Regions from separate parts of the Homo sapiens genome. Here region 2 is linked to region 1. Evidence: promoter capture Hi-C in 16 types of primary human blood cells and fetal thymus (Javierre and others, 2016). All regions are on one chromosome and are shown on one strand. Each heading gives the region's core, a stretch centred on a gene start or on the middle of the fragment in contact. The rest is flanking DNA. Distances are from core to core; before and after follow the strand shown. Region 1 holds the start of FAM131B (family with sequence similarity 131 member B). Region 2 has its middle 34 kb from the start of EPHB6.

Region 1 (5,687 bases), core at 1,036-3,535:
TTATTCCGTCCTGAGGACTCTTGGAGGGTTTCTGTATGGGAGCTGGGCTTTTTCTCTATTACAAGTCTACAGATAAGGGCAGAGCTGCTCTATGAGGAACTTTTCTCTATGCTTAGGGTGGAAGGGATGTGTCTCCCCCGGTGGGCCCTTCCTAAGAGTCCATGAGTCTGACTGACTGGAAGAGGACTTCCTGGGAATCGAGGCAGGAGTTGGATAGCAAGGAGTTGGGTGTGTCCTCCCAAAAACAGTGAGCAGAGAAACCAAGGGTGAGCTGGAGGCATTTCACCTGACTGTGGGGAGAGAAGTGATGGATTAAAGTGGAGGGAAGCTGGTGAGCAGGAGGAGAAAAGAGAACTTTTTAAAATAGGAATTAAGAAAATAGGAATTCAAGTCAGAGAGAAGACAGAAGATGGTGGGAGGGGTGGACAGGGTCTGAGGGCTGAGTGGGAAACTGCAGGACTCAGGGGAAGGAGGGTCCTTGTTACAGCCGGGCCAGAGCTCCTGGTGGAGGGAGACTCCTGGACTGAGGGCAGGATGGTGCCGCGGAGAGTCTTGCGGAAGAACTGCTTGGGTCTTCATAAAGGGACTATTCAAGCAGCAGATGGCTGCCTGAACCATCTGACCGTACAGGCCCTTTATACTCATGAGGTTTTACAATTGTGAGTTTAGGGGTCGGCTCCATTTTTGGGAAGGGGAGCATTGAATGGGGCTGGGCACGAGGAGGCATTCAGCACATCAGCAGGGCTGGGGGAAAGGAAGGGGCTTGTGGTGAACCGGACTGAGGAGGGAGGACCCTCCAAAGTTGGCCTGCTGTCCCCTGGGGCTCCGCGGGGTGGTGACTGGGGGAAAAGAGGAAAGATGGCCCTCCGGACACAGCAGGAATGGGGCAGGTGGAGAAGAGCCTGAGGAGAAGGGAGACAGGGGAGGGCGGGGTGCGGGGGGAGAGGGGAGCGGGAGGTGGCCTTTGTGAGAGACGGAGAGCTGAGTCAGAGCTGTGGGGGGCAGCGGGGAGGGAGAGAGCCGCGGAGAAGGGGTGAAAGCAGAGGAGGAGGGGGTATCCATGGAAATAAACCGGGTCTCAGGGAAATCAGGCTTCTGGAGAGTGAGTTTGTTTGTAATAATAATACGAATTATTCTCTCAGCCTGAGGTCACCGGGAGGTGTAGGCGGGAGAAATTGGGAGTTGGAAAGGGGAAGAATGGGGGAGGGGGTGGGAGAGGGCCGGATGAATTCGCTGAGCGGCGAGAGTGGAGTGGGTGCCTGGGTGGGGGTCAGGGGCGGTAGCCAGGCAGAAGCTGGAGGGAGAAGATGGATTAGGAGGCGCCTCTCTTCCCTCCCCGCGTCAAAGGTAAATAAAGAGCCGGCCCCGCCCCGCCGGCCCCCGCTGACAGGTGCAGGCGGGTCCCCGGCCGCCGAGGCAGGGCCGGCCCCACCCTCCCGGGCCGCGGGCTCCCGACCCCTCCCAGCGCCTCGAAGCCCCCATCTCCTCCCCGCGTCCCCCAGCCCCTTCCCTCCACCCGGCCCTGGCCCTGTCCCTCCGGGCGTGGAACCCGGGCTCATCCCGCCCCCGCCCCAGAGGGAAAACGCACGTGAACAAAGCGAATCGGAGGAGGCAGGAACGACAGTAAAAGGCAACGGAGAGGGAGAGAGAGATGGGGCAAAGCACCCGAGCCAGATGGAGGCGGCGGCGGGGGGTGGCGTGGGGGGCGTGCGAAAGAAACTCGGGGCTGGCGCGGAGGCCGAGGGTCCTTCGCGGGGGGCTGCTCCGGAGTGGGGGATGCGAGGAGGCGCTGGGGACGGCGGAGCAGAGGCGGATGGCCTGGAGGGGCAGGGATGAGGGGACCGAGCGTCGGGCCGAGAGGCAGAGGAGAGGAGGGCGATGGAGAGGATGGAGAGGACCGCGCCTGCGGGAGGGCGACGGGGAGAAGGAAGCGAGCCGAGCGGGATGGCAGCCCCGGAGGCGCAAGACGAGAGCGGGCAGGAAGGAGGGACAGAGGGACCGCGGGCGGACGGAAGGAAAGTGAAGGAGCTAGCAGGGCAAGGCGGGTGCGGAGCGGGGCGCCCGGAGGCGCGAGGAGAGGGATGGGGGAGGGGGTCGGAGGGCGGCCCGGGGGGCCCAGCCCTGCCCCCGCCCGGCCGCGGTACCCACCCACAGTCCGGGAGCCGATGCAGCCCATGGCTCCGGGGGCCGCAGAGCCGGGCCCTCACCGACTCGGGGCGCGCGCCGGGGGGAGCACCGGGAGCCGCGCCGCCGCCCCAGCCGCTCTGCAGCGCCGCGGCTGTCTCCGCTCGGCTCCGCTCCCCCCTCCCCTCTCCATCCCTCCCCACGGCAGCTCCGTCGCCGCCGCCGCCGCCGCCGCCGCCGCCGCCTGGCTCCCCCGCCCCGGCTCGGCTCGCCGCGGCCGGGGAGGGGGCGGCCCGGGGATTGGCTGCGCCCCGCGCCTCCCCGCCCCTGCTCCGGCCGTGCCGGGGCGCTCCCTCGGGGATCTGGGGCCGCCGTCGCCGCCCCCCTCCTCCCGCCCGTGCCAAGCCCCGCTCCCGGGGCTCTCTCCTGGAGAACCCCGGCTTGGGTTTCAGGAGCCGAGGCACGAACCCAGGGCCTACCCCGAGGTTCTGGTTGATGGATTTTGCGGGCCGGGGTCAGGGGATGCCCTGAGAGAAAGTGGGGTGGTGGTGAGAATAAAGCCAGGCCCAAGGGCCTTTGGCCACCAAATTCCGCAAACACTTGTTTTCCTCCTGGGGCCGCATCTGGGACACACACAGGAACGTGATTGGACACAGCTTTGGGCTCTGTTGTTTCGAGTGCGCTATTTTGTCCATCCAAACAGAAGGTGAAGTCTTTGCAAGTGAATCGTGTAGTCCACTTCTCTGTGCTCGCTGGACATTCAGGGGTGGGTGTGGGGATGTGCAGATAGTTGACCTCCAGGCCTGGTTGGGGATTGGAGAATATGAGGAGGACAGTTCATTCGCAGTAGACTAACAACAATGTCAGGACCCGAGGCTGGCTAGGAGACATCGTCTTGAATCCAGTTTAACTTTTCTGAGACGTGATCTTCTCGGACAAATGAAAGCAAGGCGGTCCCGAAGCAGCAAAGAGAGAGAAAGATTGGCCTCTGGCTAGTGGGACTGGGCCAGGTAGATACCTCAAGCCCCATGGGGAGGAGATGAAGGTCTAAGTTGCAAGGGTTAAATGAGCACTGTGGTTACAGCAGGTAAGAAGTGGAGTCCAGAAAAGATGCATGAGAAAGGGCAAGGAGACCCTTTTGTCTAAGGTGTACCCAGAAAGCCCAAAGTGTGAGAGAGTGGGCAGGTGGGCATTCACAGAAGCAAGTGCCCATCCAGGCTCTGACTGCACCTCGCCCACTTTTAGGTCTCTCCGAGGTTGCAGAGAGAGAAGGCAATGGGCCAGGGGTCCCTGGTGTGGGCTCCTAACAGGGAGGCTAAGTCTTATGGATGCAACTTTCTAACCTTTAGATTATGAATGGAGAGCTACATCCCATGGGGTGGCAGATGAAGATGTGCAAGAAGAAGACACTAACAACTGAATTGCAGATTGAGGAGATGAGATTATGGTGACAGAATCCATCTTCGGTGTATGTGCATGAAGAAATAAGCCAAATCTACATCTATAAAACCGCGGGAAGGAATGAGATAATAATCAGTTGCAGGTCTGCTTAGATTTTAATCGTTTAGTGTAGTTCGTGGCAGGGTCTGATACCCTATTTCAATAGTGGAGAGAATTAGAAAGCATTTTCTTTTTTCATATCTACTATTATTGGTTATATAAAAGAAGTATCAAATAGTTTCTGCTTTCATGGAATATACTGTCCAGTCGCAAAGGAAAGAAGATGGAGAGATGATTAAAAAAAAAAAAAAGAACAAACAGCTTCCATTATTCTAGCAATGCCCACACACCCCTATTGTTTGAGCAGAGAAAACGCTGACAGGGGACTGGCCAGGTAAGGAGGAACAGACCACGTGGCCATTATGCTCTTGCCTTCCCACCTGAAACTTCTGTCTCCTTATGGCTCTCCCTGAGTAATACATATATTTATATATGACTACGTATCTCTTACTGTGGTTCCAACTTGGATGCAAACCTCTCCCCTTGGTCTCCTTAACACAACTATATAAGGCTGCATTTATCCAAATGATTTAACATGAGGGATTCCAGGTCTTGGAGACTCAGTCCCATCTTGCATTCTGTCTTGAAGGTATTTCCAGTCCCTCCCCACTACCCACACAAAAAAAGTAAAATATTCTAGGCATATTCCTGGCCAGCTTCCTTCCTGCTCCCTATAGGTCTTCTTATACAAGGATTCTGCTACTTCTCACTAGTTAAGGCCATTGTCCCAGTCTCCTTGCCAAAGAGGTCCAGGGCACAAAAAAAGTTTAAGAACTTCTGGACTTTAAATACATACTTGGCGGGGGGGTTCTCTAATTCTGCAGGGGCTTAACCCCCAAATAAAATGATCAGGCAAGACACTTATCCCATTTTGAAGCTGGGGTCCCCAGGAATAATTGTAGGTACTTCGGTGGTACCTGCAGGATTGAAAGAAGGTACCAAAGCTTCACACTGATCCCCACAAATGGAGAGATGGCTCCAAAACACAACTTAATCAAGTGTTCCTTTTATTTTATTGGGATATATTAGATCAAAGTTAAAGGTCTATGAAAAGATTCAATTGAGAAAGGGAAGCTCAAAGTACAAGAGAGGGGAAGATTAATTAATATTGAATGTAAATTCCTAAAACCACCTGGAGGGATGGGAGCAGAGCTCAGGGAGGGGGATGAGACTGTACAGGAGGAGCCCAGCTCTTCTTCCAGCAGCAGGGAAGACGGGGCAGATGCCAGTGGGCTGCATGTTTGGTGTCAGGAGAATGAGGGATTCCCATCTGACGGCATCTACTTTCTCTGACAAGAAGGAGGCAAGATCATTTATTGAGAGTCAGAATGAGAGAGATAGAGAAAAAAATAAAACTCACTTTAAAGTGCAAATATCAATATACAATTGATTTAAAGAATAGAGTTTTCAGTCTATTCTTCCAAACCTCTAAGAAAGATATTCTTCTTGCATTGCAGTTGAGAGAACTGGGGCTGATAATTCAATTAACTTCCTTTTCCCTAAGATTTCCCAGTTGGAAAGAGAAAAAGCTAGCACTTTTTTGTTTGGCATTTTGTTTTGTTTTGTTTTTGAGACAGGGTCTCACGCTTACCCAGCCGGAGAGCAATGGCATGATCAAAGCTCACTGCAGCCTCGAGCTCCTGGGCTCAAGTGATCCTCCTGCCTCTGCCTCCCAAGCAGATGGAACTACAGACATGTGCCCCAACCCTCGGCTAATTTTTTGTATGTGCCTATTTTAGTAGAGGTGGGATTTCACCATGTTGTCCAGGCTGGTCTAGAACTCCTGGCCTCAAGAGATCCACCCGCCTTGGTCTCCCAAAAGGTTAGGATTACAGGCGTGAGCCACCACGCCTGGCTTACTAATTTTTTAATTTTTATTTTTGTAGATGGGGGTCTCACTATATTGCCCAGGCTGATCTTGAACTCCTGGCCTCAAGCAATCTTCCTGCCACAGGATCCCAAAGTCCTTGAATTACAGGTGTGAGCCATCGCACCTGGCCAAAAAAGCCAGCATTTAAACTCAGCTCCTCAGAGGGAAAATCTATTCTGGATGTTGTAGAAAG
Region 2 (5,687 bases), core at 1,020-3,519, 540 kb before region 1:
TTGGGTGAAACTCCACAGGGGCAGGCAAAGAATAAGTACTGGAGAATTAACAACTGCTGGTGAACTACAGTATGAATAATTACTAGATCTTGGTCGAGGCTGAGAGAGATACAGCTCTGAGCCATCAGAATAGCTTTGTTGAATACCTGGAACATTGAACAGGTATCCCAGGAAGCCCATAACTTAGAGTAGGACTCAAATGGCATAGAATAAGTCTACCGTCCATTAACCCTAACAAAGCTTAAAAGAGCCCTTGAAAGGAAAAGCAGACAAGTTGACCTGCAAGCAAGTCAACTGCCCACTAGAATAAAGCTCAACACTCTTTGAGAGAAGAAAACAAAATTCAGATAATAAAAAAGTAACATTCATAATGTTGAGCATCCAGTCAGAAATTATGGGATATACTTAAAAGCTGGAAAATGTGTCTATGCTAAGTAGTAATATTAGGCAATTGAAATCAACCCAGAAATGGCAGAGATGGTAAATTAAAATAATGGGACTTATAAATGGCTAATATACTAAAATGGCTATTATTAAATATGTTCAAGGATTTATAGTGAAACACAACATAATGAAGAATGAAACAGAAACTATAAAAAAGCTAAATAGAACTTCTAGATCTGAAAAATATCTGAAATGAAAATTTTGCTAGATAAGCTTAAGTTGGAGTAGACACTATAGGAGAAATGTCTATGAACAGGAAATCAGGACAACAGAAACTGTCAAAACAAGAGAGAGGAAAATAAAGCTAAACAACTACAAAAACTGGAAGAGGTCTCAGGGAACTCCCAAACAATATCAAGCCACCTAGCACACATATCATTGGAGTCTTCAACATAGAGGAGAGAAAGTGGTGGCAGAAAACAATTATTTTTAAAATAGTGGCCAAAATGTTTCATACATGATAAATAATATCCACCTACAGATCCAGGAAGCTTAGCAAAACCCAAGCAGGATAAGCTCAAAAAAGTTTGTTTATGAAAGAGATTACTTTCAGGTATGAGGCTCAGTTTAACTTTCACATAAGAGACAGACTCTGAGATGGTCCTTGAGAAGTCATAGGGTTTTAGACTGATAAAAATGACATTAAAAGGCAAGAAAGGATGAATGGTACAGAAATGACCAAAGGTACAGAGGCTGAAAGTACAGGACATCGGTGAAGAACAGTAAGAAGATGAACCTAAAGGGAGAGGAAGAGAATACATGAAGATAGGTTACAGTAGAATTTCCTAAAGCTTAACACATCTGTGTCTGAGGGAATTCTATGATGGGGTAACAGAGGCTGAATTTACCCTCAAACCTGAAACAATTAAAATGCATGAAATATATGAAACTCTGGACAACAGATGGCTCAAGACCGTGATCCCTGAAAGAAGTGAAATGAATAAAGTGAACCCTGTGATGGCCTCAGTTTATAGCCTGGAGATCTTTTTCAGGCAGTATTATAGGGAGGAGAAGCCCAAACAGCGCCTGGCAGTCTCTCTGAGTTAAGGAGACTTGCATTCAGGGTTTGAGGAGGCCAAAATGGCTAAAATTCCAGGGAAGAGACCCAGGGAGGAGAAAGCGGTGGGTGGGAAGTGCTCTGGAATGTGCATTGGACTCCCAGTGACTCTTCAACTGCTCTGACCAGTGAGTACAAGAAAACAACCTGAGGCTAGGGAGAGACCACTCGATGGATCAAGCAGAACCATCTCAAAGTCCACACGGGGCCGGGAAAAGATGGTGCTTCCATCAACCAGAGTGGGAGACCTCCTAACACAGAGGGCATTGAGGAGAATTCTCAGAAGCGGATCACCCCAGTCGCGGGAAGCAAATTTGCTGTACACTAAAGGCTGTCCTAGATACAACTTACAAAGCTCCAAAACAAGACTCAGAAATATCAAATTGTTTCTATGTAATCTATCTGCATCACAAAATAAAGTCCCAAATTTATTTAAGGGATACAAATACTCCAGTAGCTAGAAACGTAAAATTCAAATATCTGATATCCAATTTTAAAAAGTCATATATGCAAAGAAAAAGAAAAATATGGGTCATAAGGAGGAGAAAAACACTCAATAGAAACAGATCCAGAAATGATATACATGATGGAGTTAGCAGACAAGGCTATTAAATATATATTCAATATGTTCGGCAGGATAGAAGAGAGTGTACATATGTTAAGAAGAGACGTGGAAGATTTAAAAAAGACTGAAATAAAACTTCTTCCGATGCAAAATACAATGAATGTGATTTTATAATATACTGGATGGGATTAACAGCAGATTAGGTATCTCAAGTCAAACTTAAAGATAAGGTAATAGAATTCACCTAGGATAAAAACAGAAAGAAACTGACTTAAAAAAAGTGAGCAGAGCATCAGTGAGCTGTAGAACAGCATTAAGCAGCCTAATATTGAGAGTCCTATAAAACTGGAGGACTAATGCAGAAAAAAGAAATTGAATAACTAATAGCTGAAGCAGTTTTAAATTTAATGAAAAGGAAAAGCCACAGATTGAAGAAGTTTCATGAACTCCAAGCACAAGTAACATGAAGAACACTTTAACAAGATATAGTATCATTGGATTGCTTAAAACTAATAAAGAAAAATCTTGAAAAGCAGCCAGAGAATAAAAGACACACTATGTACAAATGAACACAGTTAAGAATGACTGCAGTCATCTCACTAGAAACAATTCAGGCAAAAGAGTGTGGAGAAACATCTTTAAATTATTTAAAGTAAAAAAAATCCTCTTAACCTAGTACTCTATATCCAGTGAAAATATCTTTCAAAAACATTGGCACAATAAACTTCTCAGACATGAAAAAACTAAAATAATTCTTTGCCAGGAGACACACACACTATAAGAAATGTTAAAGGATGTCTTTCAGACAAAATGAAAAAAAGTCCAGATGGAATTGGTAAGCCAGCTCCCTGTGAGGGATAAAAAGGAAAAAAGGGAAAAGCCTGGATTTATAGCATTTTGACCAATTTTGTGAATATAAATATTCCCACCATGGCCAAATTCAAGCAAACAACAATTTCTAACAACTGGTTCACAGAATTTCTGGATATTTAACAACTGGGTCCTATGAGCTGATACAAACCAACTACAGACTATTACAGATAGAATATCATTAGTAAATATGTAATAAATATAAAAAACAGTATTTGTGCCATTTAAAAAATCTCTTTAAAAATAATTGACTTTCTATTTCCAGTGAAAACAAAGTAAGGGACAAAATACATAAAGCACCAGTTGTCAAGACATTAGACATCAGGCAAGGAAGGACAAGAAAAAATGAGGTGAGTTTTATAATAAAACAAGCTTACCACCTTGAGACAATTTCCAGGCCATGGCACAGAGAGGGGAAATCCAGGGGGAAACCATCAAACTCCTCGAGTCAAGGAGACACAGCTGAGAGGAGAATAAGTCAAGTAGAGTTCACAGGGCTGAGGATAGCAGAGGAGAGAAGCGGGCAAAGAGAGAATTTGTGAGGTCATCAGAGAGCCCACCCTCAGTATTCAGTAGGGTATTAACAAGAGCATGAGTGTGAAAAAACCACCTGAGATTGGGAAAATAACCACACAAAGGATTAAAGAAAACAGTAACTGAATTTCATGTAGGGCCGGGAATAGTGTATAGTTTCACCAGCCAAACTCAAAAACATTAAAATTCATGGGGCATTGGGACAAGAGCTCAGAAGTGTTTGGGCTCAGAAGTGGAGGATAATGATCTCTAAACTAAATGCTGCTCTGCTGTCATCTAACAAATGATTAAAGCCAGGTACAAAAGCATCAGATTATTTCAAGAAATGTAACTGTATTCTAAAACAGGGCTCAAAAATATTTATAGAAAAATAAAAAGTCCAACACAAAATTAAAACTCAATGTATGGAATAAAATAAAAAAATTACCAAGCATACAAAAATAGCAGAAAAATGCAACGTATAATGAAAGGAAAACTGGCACAGATGTTAGAATTAGTAAAAAAATAATAATAATTTAATTTAAAAATAAAATAGTTAAGCTAGAGATGTTAAGCAGACATAGAAGATATTTTTAAAAGCTGCAAAGCCAACTTCTGGAGATGAAAATGACAATATCTGAGATGAAAAATACACTGGATGAGATTAATGATAGATTAGACAATGTAGAAGAAAATACTAGTAACCTAGGAAGATATAGCAACAAAGGCAAACCAAAAATGGAGGATAGAGGAAATAAAATAATTTTTGAAAGGAAACAGACAATTAATTGTTACAGGACAACTTAAAGTGAACTAACATAACTGGGGTTTTAAAAGAAGAGAAGAAAGATGGGAAGAAAGAAAAAACTATTGGAAGAAATCATGACTGAAAGTTTCTAAAGTCAATAAAACTCGAACCTCACATATCCAAGAAGCCTGACAAAACTCAAGCATACATACACAAAATACACCAAAGAATATCATAATCAGATTTCTGAAAATTAGTGTTAAAGAGAAAATCTTAAAAGCAGCCACAGGATAAAAACATGTTTTGTACAGTAGAACAAGATAAAGATGACAGAAGATTTCTTGGTGAAAACAAAGCAAGTGAGAACACAGTAAAGCAACATCTTTAAAATACTGAAAGAAAAATACTGTCTTTTTGATAATGACCAGCCTAACAAATGTGAGGTAATATTTTATTGTGGTTTTGATTTTCATTTCCCTAATGATTAATGATGTTGAATACCTTTTCATATCCCTTTTGGCCATTTGAGTGTCTACTTTAGAAAAATGTTGAATAATCAAAAAAGATGATTAGTGATGTTCAGCACCTTTTCATATACCTGATTATCTTCTTTGGAAAAGTGAAAAAATGAAAACATATATTCTTTGAAAACAGGCGGTTTGCCCATTTTTTTAAATGGATATTAACCCTTTATCAGACATATGGTTTACAAAATTTTCTCCCATTTCATGGTTTGCTTTTTCATTTTGTTGATTGTTTCTTTTGTCATGCAGAAGCTTTTTTAGTTTGATGTATTACCATTTGTTTATTTTTACTTTTGTTATCTGTTCTTTTGTTGTTACATCAAAAAAATTGCCAAGACCAATGTCATGAAGCTTTTTTTTATGTTTTCTTATAAAATTTTTGCAGTTTCAGATCTTACATTTAAATATTTAATCCATTTAAAGTTGATTTTCCGTATATAGTGTAACATAAGGGTTCAGTTTTATTTTATTTTATTTTTTTGGATACAGATATTCAATTTCCCAGCACCATTTATCGAAGAGGCTACCCTTTTCCCGTTGCATACTCTTGGTGCTTTTGTCAAAGATTAGTTGACCATATATGTGTGGGTTTATTTCTGGGCTTTCTGTTCGGTTCCTTTATTCTATATGTCTGTTTTTAAGCCAATACCATACTGTTTTGATTACTATAGATTTGTAATATAACTTGAGACTGGAAAATGTGATGCCTTCAGCTTTCTTCTTTCTTCTTAATATTGCTTTAGCTATCTAAAGCAATATTTAATCTGTGAAAATGCCACTGGAAATTTCATAGAGATTGCATTCAATCTGTAGATGACTTTGGGTAGTGTGGACATTTTCACAATATTGACCCTTCTGATCTATGAAGGTAGGATAGATTTCCATGTATTTGTATCTTCTTCAATTTCTTTCATCATTGTTTTACGGTTTTTAGTGTACAGATCTTTCACCTCCTTGGTTAAATTT

What was found. The method cuts DNA at HindIII sites, captures the fragments that hold promoters and counts their contacts. A CHiCAGO score of 5 or more calls a contact.
Region 2: a fragment that was not itself captured here is called in contact with the fragment with the promoter of FAM131B in region 1 in 3 of 17 cell types (total CD8 T cells, total CD4 T cells and naive CD8 T cells); the score reaches 6.9 in total CD8 T cells.

The regions. Positions count from the first base shown.
Region 1 is chr7:143,360,428-143,366,114 of GRCh38, forward strand. FAM131B (family with sequence similarity 131 member B) reads right to left here and starts at 2,286. Exons shown (of 7, transcript NM_001031690.3): 1 at 2,149-2,286. The coding sequence starts at 2,176. It overlaps FAM131B-AS1 (FAM131B antisense RNA 1), which reads left to right and starts at 1,279. Exons shown (of 3, transcript NR_183342.1): 1 at 1,279-1,630; 2 at 2,763-2,830; 3 at 3,474-3,838. The HindIII fragment of the contact is 5,612 bases long and covers 1-4,566 here.
Region 2 is chr7:142,818,167-142,823,853 of GRCh38, forward strand. No RefSeq gene overlaps it. Among named protein-coding and RNA genes, the nearest start is that of EPHB6, 34 kb to the right of the region's middle. The HindIII fragment of the contact is 2,073 bases long and covers 1,234-3,306 here.